3 separate regions of the Homo sapiens genome follow, and regions 1 and 2 are each linked to region 3. The links are contacts of gene promoters, found by promoter capture Hi-C in human tissues and cell types (Jung and others, 2019). All regions are on one chromosome and are shown on one strand. Each heading gives the region's core, a stretch centred on a gene start or on the middle of the fragment in contact. The rest is flanking DNA. Distances are from core to core; before and after follow the strand shown. Region 1 has its middle 160 kb from the start of GRIN2B. Region 2 has its middle 40 kb from the start of GRIN2B. Region 3 holds the start of GPRC5D (G protein-coupled receptor class C group 5 member D).

Evidence for each region. The method cuts DNA at HindIII sites, captures the fragments that hold promoters and counts their contacts. A contact is called where the count stands out against the background at its distance.
Region 1: a contact is called between a fragment that was not itself captured here and the fragment with the promoter of GPRC5D in region 3, in 1 of the 25 tissues and cell types used here (stomach).
Region 2: a fragment that was not itself captured here is called in contact with the fragment with the promoter of GPRC5D in region 3 in 1 of the 25 tissues and cell types used here (dorsolateral prefrontal cortex).

The regions. Positions count from the first base shown.
Region 1 is chr12:14,136,500-14,141,046 of GRCh38, reverse strand. No RefSeq gene overlaps it. Among named protein-coding and RNA genes, the nearest start is that of GRIN2B, 160 kb to the right of the region's middle. The HindIII fragment of the contact is 4,662 bases long and covers 1-4,430 here.
Region 2 is chr12:14,019,684-14,023,811 of GRCh38, reverse strand. No RefSeq gene overlaps it. Among named protein-coding and RNA genes, the nearest start is that of GRIN2B, 40 kb to the right of the region's middle. The HindIII fragment of the contact is 5,764 bases long and covers 1-4,128 here.
Region 3 is chr12:12,949,879-12,954,280 of GRCh38, reverse strand. It overlaps GPRC5D (G protein-coupled receptor class C group 5 member D), which reads left to right and starts at 2,111. Exons shown (of 4, transcript NM_018654.2): 1 at 2,111-2,174; 2 at 3,852-4,402. The coding sequence starts at 3,897. The region is part of intron 1 of GPRC5D-AS1 (GPRC5D and HEBP1 antisense RNA 1); the gene reads right to left. The HindIII fragment of the contact is 7,971 bases long and covers 1-2,534 here.

The sequences.
Region 1 (4,547 bases), core at 850-3,349, 1.2 Mb before region 3:
AGGCGCAAGTCACCATGCCTGGCTAATTTCTTTTGTATTTTAGTAGAGACGGGGTTTCACCATGTTGACCAGGCTGGTCTCGAACTCCTGAGCTCAGGCAATCTGCCTGCCTCAGCCTCCCAAAGTGCTAAAATTACAGACATGAGCCACTGCGCCCAGCCAGCTCTTTTTTTTCCGATGAGATGCAAGGAAACTTAAAGAGCCTCTAGTATATCTTTTTTTTTTTTTTTTTGTCTCCCAGGCTGGAGTGTAGTGGTACAATCTCGGCTGACTGCAACCTCTGCCTCTTAAGTTCAAGCAATTCTCCTGCCTCAGCCTCCCGAGTAGCTGGGATTATAGGTGTGTGCCACTATGCCCTGGCTAATTTTTGTGTTTTTAGTAGAGGCCGGGTTTTGCCATATTGGCCAGGCTGGTCTTGAACTCGTGCCCTCAAGTGATCTGCTTGCCTCAGCCTCCCAAAGTGCTGGGATTACAGGCGTGAGCCACTGCACCCGGTCTACCTTATCTTTTTACAGATGTGGAAACCAAGGTCTACAGAGGTCCCCTTATTTGTCAGCAGTGCAGCTAAGTCTAGAATCTGGTCTCTAAACTCCCAATTCTCTGGACTTTCTACTTCATTCTTTCTTAGCTTCAGTCTTTGTAACTTGAAATTACCCTTGACACAGAATTTAGTAGCTCTGTTAATAAATCATCTGCCTCTGCAGCTCTGCCTTTTGTCCTATTTGGCCTTAGTTCCACTTTTATTGAAATATTTGGTAATGCTTTCATCTGATTTTCCTTCTATATTACAATTTTCTCTTTCTGTTCACCTTCTGGTTTCCTGGCCCTAACCCTAAATGTAGTGAATGGCCAAGGTTTCATGAATATTAAGATCTAATATTTATGTGCACTATCATCTTCCATGCTCTGTTTATTTTTTTATTCTTGTGACACAGTTAATAATTATGCATCTGAAATGGCTGCAAGTTTAAAAAGCAAAAGGAAAAATTCTTTTGCAATAGGTCTTACTTAATTTACAGGTCTCATTTTTGCTTCATTTCTCCGTTTCTTTCCCTTATCTAGCACTAGCCTCATTAAAAACTTTTATATGAGAGATTAGCATTTTTAAAGTCAAGATCTCTCTTCTATACTTATGTTTGAAAAGGCCTCCTCCACTCTTTCTTCTTGGGTGATGGCACTTTGAACATAAAGCTAGTATAGTATGGGCCTCAATGCATTGGTATTTCCATGTTTATCTCCTCTGCCAGACTGAGCACCTTGAGGGTAGGCATTGTGTCTTAGTAATTTTTGTATACTTTAGTATCTCACAGTATAGCTCCTAAGAGGATCTCCATACATAGTTGTCAAGTGGAATCAACCAACCCTTCATATAATTTCAAATACATTAGATGAAACCATCCTTTTCCCAATAGTGATCGTTCTTCTATAACATATTCTTGCATTTCAGTTGAAGACAGGGATGTCCCCCGACCCCCCTACTCTGCCCAGGCTATCCTATGCTATCCCTTGAGTATCCCGTATCCCTAAGTCTGACCTGAGCAGAGCTACTTGAAAGTCTTCCTTTCCTGGAAAATGTGGTTTGAAGTGTGCCAGGAAAATCTCTCTCCCATGTGTATGGTCCTTTTTTGAATAAATCCAAACCCATTCTCATTTGGGGCTTGAAAACTTTTTAGCTTTCAAAAGCCTGCTTTGGAAATCCAGATGTCTCAAGGGAAGGCAGAAACTTGTCTCTCATCTGCTGACACCTTAGCAGCAATAACATTTCAGCAGAAAGTGCTGTGAGCAGCAGTTGGTAAAAAGTGGAGAGAAGCAGAAAAATGCCTTTTGTTCTTTCCCACCTGCTCTGGCTTTCTGGTGTTTGCTTTTTCTCAAGCATTTTTCTTTTCTGTTTTCTCTTCTCTTCTCTTTTTTCTTTTCTTTTCTTTTCTTTCTTTTTTTTTTGAGACTGAGTCTAACTCTATCTCCCAGGCTGGAGTGCAGTGGTGCGATCTCAGCTCACTGCAACCTCTGCCTCCTGGGTTCAAGTGATTCTCGTGCCTCAGCCTCCTGGGTAGCTGGGATTACAGTCACCTGCCACGATGCCCTGCTAATTATTATTATTATTATTTTTTGTATTTTTAGTAGAGACAAGGTTTCTACATGTTGGTCAGGCTGGTCTCAAACTCCTGACCTCAAGTGATCCACCTGCCTCAGCCTCCCAAAGTTCTGGAATTACAGGTGTGAGCCAGCACGCCCGGCCATGTATATTTCTTGAGCTCATATCCGAAGATGGAAAATTAGCCATGACACTCCCATGGGCTATTCGGCTTTGGGGGCCAGGGCAGCTTGGAGGGTCACCCTGTTACACACAGCTTTAGCCCTGCTAAGAGGGGCTGTAGGGACCCTTTTGCCCAGCAGAGGGTACTGTCTGTGCTGGCAGCCTCTCTCACTGTGGATGGTCCCGGCTCAACCGTGCTAAAGTTAGCTGCTGGTTTGAAAATTTTATTTGTTTCTGGTTTGTGACACAGTGCAACCCAAAACAGGATGACAAATGTTTACTCTTTAAATTACAGGTTAAAATCTTTAAAATCATTTTTGAGAGTTTAATTTTTGCCCCCTAAATCCTCCGATGGAGTTACAGACTCAGGTGATGTCAGGAAACAAGATTGAGTGTTGACTCTCTGCTCTCTTTTCTTTTGTAGCAAGCAGGTATGTTTGCTGCCCCTTATTCTTCTAGCTGAGTCTTCACCCTCATTTAGGCCACCCCCAGAGCAAGGGTGGATGTGGGGTCCCAGGAAGAGGTTGTATGTCCTTAAGGATTTGGGTGTTTTCCGACGGAGCACACTCATGGTAGATCATCTCTCTGGTCTTCAGGAGGACTTTGCTTAAGTCACAGTCCAGGTGAGAAGTATGGGGTTGGATGTGGTCTTCCAAGGGGGCCTTCATGACTCACATCGGTCGTTCCAGGCACATCCGAGGCCTTCCCAGGATGATGAGTGTATCTGTGCAATGACTGACCTATGACTAGCCTATTATCACTGATACCCCTTGGGCAAACCTAGCAGCCAGCAGTAGGTCAACAACCAAACAGAACTTCAGACAGCCTTTCACTTGTACCTTAGAACTTCCGACCTGCTATTCTTGGGAATCGCTCTGGGGTAGACATGAGATCCTCACCCCCTTGGCTTCTCAGAAATTGCTCTCCAGTTTTATTTAGACTGTATGAAGCAGGAACTGACAGAGCTGCCTAATGCTTCTTAGCATGCAATGTTATTACAAATATAATGGCGTTCAATTTAAAAATAAAATACATTTTCTACTTTGCAACCCTTCTGTTCTCTTTCATTTAGCTGTTTAATAATGTCAAATGCTTAGAACCCAGATTAGAGATTCTTACAATAGTCTCTGATTAAACCCTAATAAAAGCACAGTCAGGAAAATTCATAATATAAGGCATGCTAACTAACTTTTGGAAGCTCAATTTATATTTTGTAAGGCTAAGACTAATTTGAGGATTATGTTTTAAACTAAAAAGCTTTATGGGTACTTAGGCAAAATACTAGTAATAATAAATGAAATAACCCAAAACTTGGGTAGTTTTGTTCCTTCATTGACTAATTGCTTTTACTCCGTTTACTTTCAAAACATTATTTGAGAAAATGTACCATAATTCTTTAGAGCACTGAAGTAAAAATGCAAACATAAGGGCCAAGCAGTGAAGGACATTGAATAATTATTCCAGAAAACTCAAGTTTAAGGGAAATGTTTGCTTTTTTTTTTTTTTTTTTTTTTTTTGAGACAGGGTCTCACTCTGTCACCCAGGCTGGAGTGTAGTGGCATGATCTGGGCTCACTGCAGTCTCTGCCTCCTGGGTTCAAGTGATTCTCCTCCTTCAGCCTCCTGAGTAGCTGGGATTACAGGTGCCCATCACTATGCTTGGCTGATTTTTGTATTCTTAGTAGAAATGGGGTTTTGTCATGTTGGCCAGGCTGGTCTTGAACTCCTGGTCTTAGGTGATCCATCCACCTCAGCTTCCCAAAGTGTTGGGATTACAGGTGTGAGCCACTGCGCCCAGCCAGGAAATGTCTACTTTTAAGTCCAAGACTTAATTCTGGATTTTCTTAGAGCCAGGGAAACAAGGGAATCAGTTTGGGTTATCTAGCTCTCATATCTAATATGAGTAAACATACTGCACAAATGTCTTACTGGAATTAAATTCAAAAAAATTATGTTGTAAATCTTTGCAGATGTTGGTATACATAGTGGACATATCTTCAACAAAACAAGGTGTTCTTTATTTAGCATTATCTACACCAGTTTCTGATAGAAAAATGAGGGCATAGTATTAAGTCATAGTTTGTGAAGCCATTTCTATAAAGAACTAGAGCAGTATTCAGGTATATGACTTTCCAGTGAAGTGACATGACATAGCTTGGAAATTCTAAAAGAAAAACAAGAAGAATGAAAAGTTAAAATTCCTATAGTCTATCTTTCTTAAGCATCAGTGGTCAGAACTGGGTTTTTGTTAGGAACTTATAAAAGGTACTTCATAATTAAGGTCTCCTGAA
Region 2 (4,128 bases), core at 1,365-3,864, 1.1 Mb before region 3:
GGGAGACAAATTCTGCAGTTAAAGTTCATTCAAGTTATTATTTTTATAATAAATAAATCAATAAAGCAATCTCTAAATTGCTATAATATAGTATCTAAAACGTCCACTTTTTAACAAAAATATGAGACCTACAAATAGACAGGAAAGTAAAATCCATACTCAGAGAACAAGTAGTCTATAGAAACTGTGTCTTTGTGGGTCAAGATTTTGAGTTTAGCAGAAAAAGACACGAAAGCAGCTAACATAAATATATCTGAAGACTAAAAGGAAATCTTATTCAAAGAAGTAAAGGAAAATATGGTGAAAATGGCTCAACAAATAGAAAATCTAAATAGAGAATAGAAACTAGAAAAAAAAGCCAAATAGAAATTCTTGATTTGGAAAATACAATAGCTAAAATAAAACTATAAAAAAGAGCCAAATCTTTTTTTAAATATTTTAATGCTTTTATTGATTCTACATTTGGAAAATACAGTAACTGGAATGAAAAGTTTGCTAAATAGTCTCAACAGATTTGAAAAGGCAGAAGAGAAAATCAGTGTACTTGAAGATAGATCAATAGAAATTATCCATTCTAAAGAACAAAAAAGAAAATAAGATTGAAGAAAAATGAAGAGACTCAAAGACTTATAGAGCCTATCAACATATTGGAATGAAAGTTCATAAGGAGTGGAGAGAGTAAAGGGCAAAATTTTTTTGAAGAATTAATGGCCATAAACTCAAACCTAGTGAAAACCTTAGTCTGTATGTTGAAGAAACTCATTAAGCATCAACTAAGATAAAAGCAAAGTTATTTACACCTATACCCATGATAATAAAAAACTTTTAAAAGCCTAGACAAAAGCAAAGTTTTAGAATAGTGAGAGTGAGAGGAAAATGACTCATTGTGAATGAAGAACCATACACGATGGCTAGTGGCTTGCTTTTCATAAAACATACAGAGTGTAGAAGGCAGTGAAATAAATAGCCAAAGTGATCATAGGAAAAAAAAAAAGCCTATCAACGAAGAATATTCTTTCTAGCAAGACAGTCTTCGAAAATGAAGGCAGGCTGGGTGAGGTGGCTCACACCTGTAATCCCAGCACTTTGAGAGGCTGAGTTGGGAGGATTGCTTGAAGCCAGGAATTTGAGATAAGTCTGGGGAACATAATGAGACCCCATCTTTACAAAAAAAAAAGAAAAAAGAAAAAAGAAAAAAGCTAGGCATGGTGGTGTGTACCCCTACTTCCATACTTCCAGTTACTCAGGAGGCTTAGGACCCCTTGACCCCAGGAGTTTGAGGCTGCAGTGAACTATGATTGCACTACTGCATTCCATCCTGGGTGACACAGTGAGACCATATCTCAAAAAAAATTTAAAAAATAAAAAAGAGTAAAAAATGAATGCAGAATAAAGACCTTCCCAGATAAACAAAAATAAAAATAGACCTTGTCTACAAGAAATCTGAAGGCAGTCCTTTGGGCTGAAAGGAAATGACAGCAGATGATTACTCAATTACATAGGAAGGAAGAAGGACCAATGAAAATGTTAAATATGGCCGGGCGCGGTGGCTCACCCCTGTAATCCTAGCACTTTGGGAGGCTGAGGCGGGTGGATCACGAGGTCGGGAGATCAAGACCATCCTGGCTAACATGGTGAAACCCCGTCTCTACTAAAAATACAAAAAATTAGCCGGGCGTCGTGGTGGGTGCCTGTAGTCCCAGCTACTCGGGAGGCTGAGGCAGGAGAATGGCGTGAACCCGGGAGGCGGAGCTTGCAGTGAGCCGAGATCGCGCCACTGCACTCCAGCCTGCGCAACAGAGCAAGACTCCGTCTCAAACAAAAAAAAAAAAAAAAAAGAAAATGTCAAATATATGGACAACTATAAAAGACTGTCCAGTGTTTTCTCTTTTCTTAATTTCTTTAAAAACAAAAAGTACTTGAAGCAATAATTATAATGCTATATTTTGGAGGATATCTTACATATATAGTTGTAATATGTATGACAATACTAGCACTAAAGTGAGAAAAGATAGTGGAAATAATAAACTGGAGCAAAGTTCCTGTATATTATTACTATTATTATTAACCTGAAACAGATTATGATAAATTAAAGATATATGTTGTAGTCCTTAGAAGAATTACTAAGAAAATAATTTAAAAATATAATTAAAACTCTAACAGAGGAAAGAGCAAGGTCCAACTATATGTTATCTATAAGAGACATTATATTGAAAAATACCAACAGGTTGAAAGTAAAAGGAGAGAAAAAGCAAACAATAGCTAGTAAAGAACCAAACTGGCTTTATTACATACAAAACCATAGACCTGAAGACAAGTACTATTATGAGAGACAAAGATAACAATTTTATAATAATAAAATTTTCAGTATATCAGGAAGAAGTAGCAATTATAAATGTATAAACATCTAACACCAGAGTCCCAAATGTAGCAAAGATTGACAGAATTAAAGGACAGACAATATAATATTGTAGTAGTTGGAAATTTCAACATCCTTCTTTTAGTAATTGACAGAACTAGACAGAATATCAGTAAGGATATTCACGACTTGAACAACACCATTAACCAACTTGATGTAAATAATATATAGAGCACTCTATCCAACAACAGCAGGGTACACATTTTTTTCAAGTGTACATGGAACATTTTCCATGATAAATAATAATACTATAGACTGTCAAACACATCTCAGAATATGATTTTTGACTAAAAAAATTCAGGAAACCAACAACGGAAAAGTATTTAGGACTTCACAAATATTTGGAATTTCAACAAATAGTTTTAGAAAAACAGTGAGTCAAAGATGAAATCACCAGGTAAGTTAGAAAATATGCTTAACTGAATAATGATTAAAACCTAATCTATCAAAATTTATGAGAGGTAGCTAAAGTAGTGCTTACAGACAAACTTAATGTTAAGTGCTTATATTAGAAAGAAAATAGATCTAAAATCAATTTCCTAAGCTTCCACCTCAAGAAGCTAGACAAAGAATGGTAAGTTAAATCTCAAGTAAGCATAGGGAAGAATATAATAAAGACCAAAAAAGAAATAAATGAAATACAAATTGGAAAAACAGAGTAAATCCACAAAATCAAAAGTTTGTTTATTTAAGATCAGTAAAACTGATAAACATTTAGCTACACTAACAAAAAAAGAGATAGAAGACAAATTAACAAAATCAAGAATGAAAGAACATCACCACAGATCCTGCAGAAATTAAAAGAATTAGAAGGGAATATTATGCCAATGAATTAGACAATGTAGATGAAATAGTTAATATTCTAGAAGGATACAGGTTACCAAAACTGTCATAAGAAGAAATAGAAATCTGAATAAACCTGAAATTCATAGAGATTGAATTAGTAATTTACAAGCTTCCTACAAAGAAAAGCTCAGACCTGGATGGCATCACTAGTAAATTTTGTCAAACATTTAGAGAAAAAATAATACCAATCCTACACAAACATTTTCAGAAAAAAAGAGGAGGAAACCCTTCCTAACTTGTCAGTATTGATATGATACCAAAGCAGGACAAAGTTATCACAAGAAAAGAAAACTATACAATTATTTCTAATGAACATAGATGCAGAAATTCTTAACAAAATATTAGCTTATTGAAACAAGCAACATAAACAGAGGATTATATGCCATTACCCAGTAGAATTTATTCCTGAAATGCAAGAATGACTTTACATATGCAAATCAATTAATAAATATACTATATTAATAGAATGAAGGACTAAAGCTATACAATTTTCTCAGTAGACACAGAAAACAACTTTTGACAAAATATAGTATTCATTGATGTTTAAAATCTCTCAACAGATTAGAAATAGGAACGAACTTCCTGTACCTGAGAAAGAGTATGTATGAAAAACCTTCAGCTAATATTATACTTAATTGTGAATGATAGTTGTAAAAGTTTTCCACTTAGATTGGGAATAGGCCAAGTACATACACTCTCACTACTTCTACTCAACATTTTACTGAATGTTCCAGCCAATGTAACTAAGCTACGAAATAAATTAAAGGCCTTTATGATTTTGTATGTAGAAAATCCCAAGATTATATGTAGGTTAAGTACCAGTTAAAATTAATGTGAGTTTAGCAAGGCTGCAGGCTATGAAG
Region 3 (4,402 bases), core at 862-3,361:
TTCTTCTCTCATAGGAGAAAATGGCTTTTTGAAGTTAAGGAACTCTAAAGATAGAACACCACTTCAGAATGATTTTGTCAAGGGTTTGTTAAGTCTCTCACTTATTTGCAGGTGTTTTCCATTAACACACATCTGTTGAAAAACCACACCACTAAAAAGGACCTTCTGAAAGATCTGGAATTTTATCTTTAGAATCATTCCATTAATTGAATTATCCATCACCCAGGAGGTTCTCCACATAGAAGCAGGTACTATGGGGACATAAAATGTGGAACCTGACCCCTAGACAGCTATAAATCCAATCAGGAGATGAGATTAATTCATATAACAGAAATTGAGACATTTATTATTCATTTATTTCAATTCATTATTACTTAATATGTATTCATAAGTTAACTAATAGGCAGAAAATAGGGTTTCTGTAATTTTGAACAGAACAGACCCCAAGTCTTGTATAGTTCCTGGTGGAAGGTGATCAGCGAGGTCTAGAATGATGAGGGAAGGCAGGAAGAGTCATAGAGGAGATAAGGTGAAGAAAATCCTACAGGGAGGGAATGAATTTGGGTCAAAAATAGGATAAATGGGAATCAAGCACAAGGCAGTTTCGGACAGGGACAGAGGTGAGCACTTGGGAACTTATTTTTTTTGTGAGCCAGTGGGAAAACCAAGGAGGCTAAACCATAGAGCCTGGAGATGTGAAGGAAGTACAGGTGGGTAAGAAAGGGAGAGCCAGATCACAAGCACCTTGAAACCAGACACTGGTTTGGGGTCTTCAGCAGTCCTCTGTCGAAATACATATATTCAGGGGCTGGGTGTGGTGGCTCACACCTGTAATCCCAGCCCTTTGGGAGGCAGAGGCAGGCAGATTACTTGAGGTCAAGAGTTCAAGACAAGCCTGGCCAACATGGTAAAACCCCGTCTCTACCAAAAATATAAAAAACTAGCCGGGCGTGGTGGCATGCACCTGTAATCCCAGCTACTCGGGAGGCCAAGGCAGGAGAATCACTTGAACCCAGGAAACGGAGGATGCAGTGAGCCGAGATCGCGCCACTGCACTCCAGCCTGGGCGACAGAGCGAGACTCCATCTCAAAAAAAAAAAAAAACAAACATATATTCAGGAAGAAAATCAAGGAGTAAATTGGAGGTGGCGGGGTGCGGTTGGTGGGTGTAGGCTGGACACTGTGCTGTGCTGTATTTTGTGTCACCATAGAAGAAAAGGAATATGGTATTCAAGTATCAGCCGGTGACCTTTAATTGTCAGTTCTTTATCTTGGGATAAATTCACAGACTGATTCACAGTTTTGCCTGCCACTGGCCATTTTAATGCCAGTAGTAGACAAAACCACCCTTCCTTATGGCCCAGTGAAACCTCATTACCTGTACTTTGTTGAATGGATGCTCTTTTGAATTAAAATCAAGATGTGGGGGCCGGGCAAGGTGGCTCATACCTGTAATCCCAGCACTTTGGGAGGCCAAGGCGGGCAGATCACGAGGTCAGGAGTCTGAGACCAGCTTGGCCAACATAGTGAAACCCCGTCTCTACTAAAAATACAAAATGTGGTGGCATGCGCCTGTAATCCCAGCTACTCGGGAGGCTGAGGCAGGAGAATTGCTTGAATCCGGGAGGCCAGAAGTTGCAATGAACCGAGATCGTGCCATTGCACTCCAGCTTGGGTGATGGAGCAAGACTCTATCTCAAAAAAAAAAAAAAAAAAAAAATCAAGATGTGAGAAAGTCTCCAGAGATGGCTTTTTAGGCAATAGGTCAGAAGAAGGACGAGGTATCCTGGTGTAAGTCACCTGAGGGCCTTGTGTAGCTTCCCTGAATGTGTTGCAATACACAGGGAGGAAGCCGTCTTTCCTAGATTTATACCCACTTTCAGATTTACACCCGCTCCCTAAGGCCAAGGTGCCTCTGGTCAGCAGTAGAATGAAAAAGAATTATTCTCACCAAGGAAATCTCTGTAGAAAAGTTGCTGTGAAACTGGAATAGGTGTGTCTTTCTGTCCTTCCGGTTCTTTTTATAGATACTGCAGGAACCTCAGTGAGAGCCTACGGTTCTTCCGCCCATTTGGGGAGAGATTAAAGAAGCTGAGGTTGGCTCTTTCTTACTCATTGGCAGTTACAACTTTGCCAGCACTACAGCCTAAGCTTCCAGAGTGGACACGGAGAAGGTAAGTTGGAATTGGGGGGCCATGTTCTCAGCTGTAAACCTGGGTCACTCCAGCCATCTGGTCTGGGGATAACTGAAGGGAAGTAGAGCTAAGGGGTATTCAATTGCAATTGATTTTTTTTTTTCAAATGAATATGTGGGATCTTTTTCCTAGGCTACCTCAGTCAAGACATGGACTTTCGTACTAAACTGTTCAAAAAGGTATTTAAAGAAAGGGACCATTTTGTACAATTCTTTGATGAACACACAATAGGTGTTTAACTACAACCTGCTGCATTGGATTGACTTGAATTAACTGAAAGAAGGAACAGTCATTAAAATTACTGGGAAATTTTATTCCCAGTAATTTATCTGCCTGTCTCCTTCAAGCAGTGCATCAGTGTCTAGAACGATCCAATGATCCATTAATGTTGGCAGTCCTTGTTCTGGAGTCTGATATAACTGAATTCCATCAATCATGCAAACATTCTCATACACCTCCTTTTATGAAAAAGATTTTGTATTAGCTTTCAAAGCCTTGGAAATTAGCATACACAAATGGACATATTATCAAGTGAAGCCTGTTCAGCTTTTCCCAGCAGGATGAAGCCAAGATAGTTTTGAAGGGTTTAGGTTGCCTTTCTCATTTCCTTTACTGACATCCTATATAAAACTGCTATAAATTTGGGGTAATATGTGTGATGGCATTTCCCATCCCCTTAGACTATGTTTGCATATATCTCTGAATTTCTTCCCCCAGGGAAGCTTAGCATTTAGATAAGTATCAGGAGTCAAACAAAATGTAACTCAGGCTCTTGACAGTGTCCTAGGAACAATTTTGGTAAGGACATTTATTTCATATGCCCAGGTGTCTTCATTTCAGAATGAGAGAAATTACAGTGCCCAGCATGGACCACCCAATAGGCATTCTTGTAGGTATTAGGTTGGTGCGAAAGCAGTTGCGGTTCTTGACGTTACTTTTTTTGTTTGTGTGTTTTTTGTTTTTCGGTTTTTGTTTTCAGACAGCGTCTCACTCTGTCGCCCAGGCTGGAGTGCAGTGGTGCGATCTTGGCTCACTGCAACCTCTGCCTCCTGGGTTCAAGCAATTCTCCTGCCTCAGCCTCCCAAGTAGTTGGGAATATAAGCGCATGCCATCATGCCCGGCTAATTTTTTATGTGTGTTTTTAGTAGAGATGGGGTTTCACCATGTTGGCCAGGCTGGTCTTGAACTCCTGACTTCAAGTGATCCACCCACCTTGGCCTCCTAAAGTGCTAGGATTACAAGCATGAGCCACTGTACCCTGCCTTGTTTTTTGCTTTTTGAGACAGAGTCTCACTCTGTCACCCAGGCTGGAGTACAGTGGGGCAATCTCGGCTCAATGTAAACTCTGTCTCCTGGGTTCAAGCGATTCTCCTGCCTCAGCCTCCCGAGTAGCTGAGATTACAAGTGTGCACCACCACACCCGGCTAATCTTTGTATTTTTAGTAGAGATGGGGTTTCACCATGTTGGCTAGGCTGGTCTTGAACTGCTGACCTCAAGTGATCGGCCCGCCTCAGCCTTCCAAAGTGCTGGGATAACAGGAGTGAGCCACCGCACCCAGCCTTCTTGCCATTACTTTTAATAGCAAAAAGCACAATTACTTTTGCACCAACCTAAGAGATGCAGAGTTGTCAATTTGTCTCATCCTTTTTCTGCAGGGCATCAGAAAACCATTCTGGTGAGGTCCACACCCATAAGTCACCATGTACAAGGACTGCATCGAGTCCACTGGAGACTATTTTCTTCTCTGTGACGCCGAGGGGCCATGGGGCATCATTCTGGAGTCCCTGGCCATACTTGGCATCGTGGTCACAATTCTGCTACTCTTAGCATTTCTCTTCCTCATGCGAAAGATCCAAGACTGCAGCCAGTGGAATGTCCTCCCCACCCAGCTCCTCTTCCTCCTGAGTGTCCTGGGGCTCTTCGGACTCGCTTTTGCCTTCATCATCGAGCTCAATCAACAAACTGCCCCCGTACGCTACTTTCTCTTTGGGGTTCTCTTTGCTCTCTGTTTCTCATGCCTCTTAGCTCATGCCTCCAATCTAGTGAAGCTGGTTCGGGGTTGTGTCTCCTTCTCCTGGACGACAATTCTGTGCATTGCTATTGGTTGCAGTCTGTTGCAAATCATTATTGCCACTGAGTATGTGACTCTCATCATGACCAGAGGTATGATGTTTGTGAATATGACACCCTGCCAGCTCAATGTGGA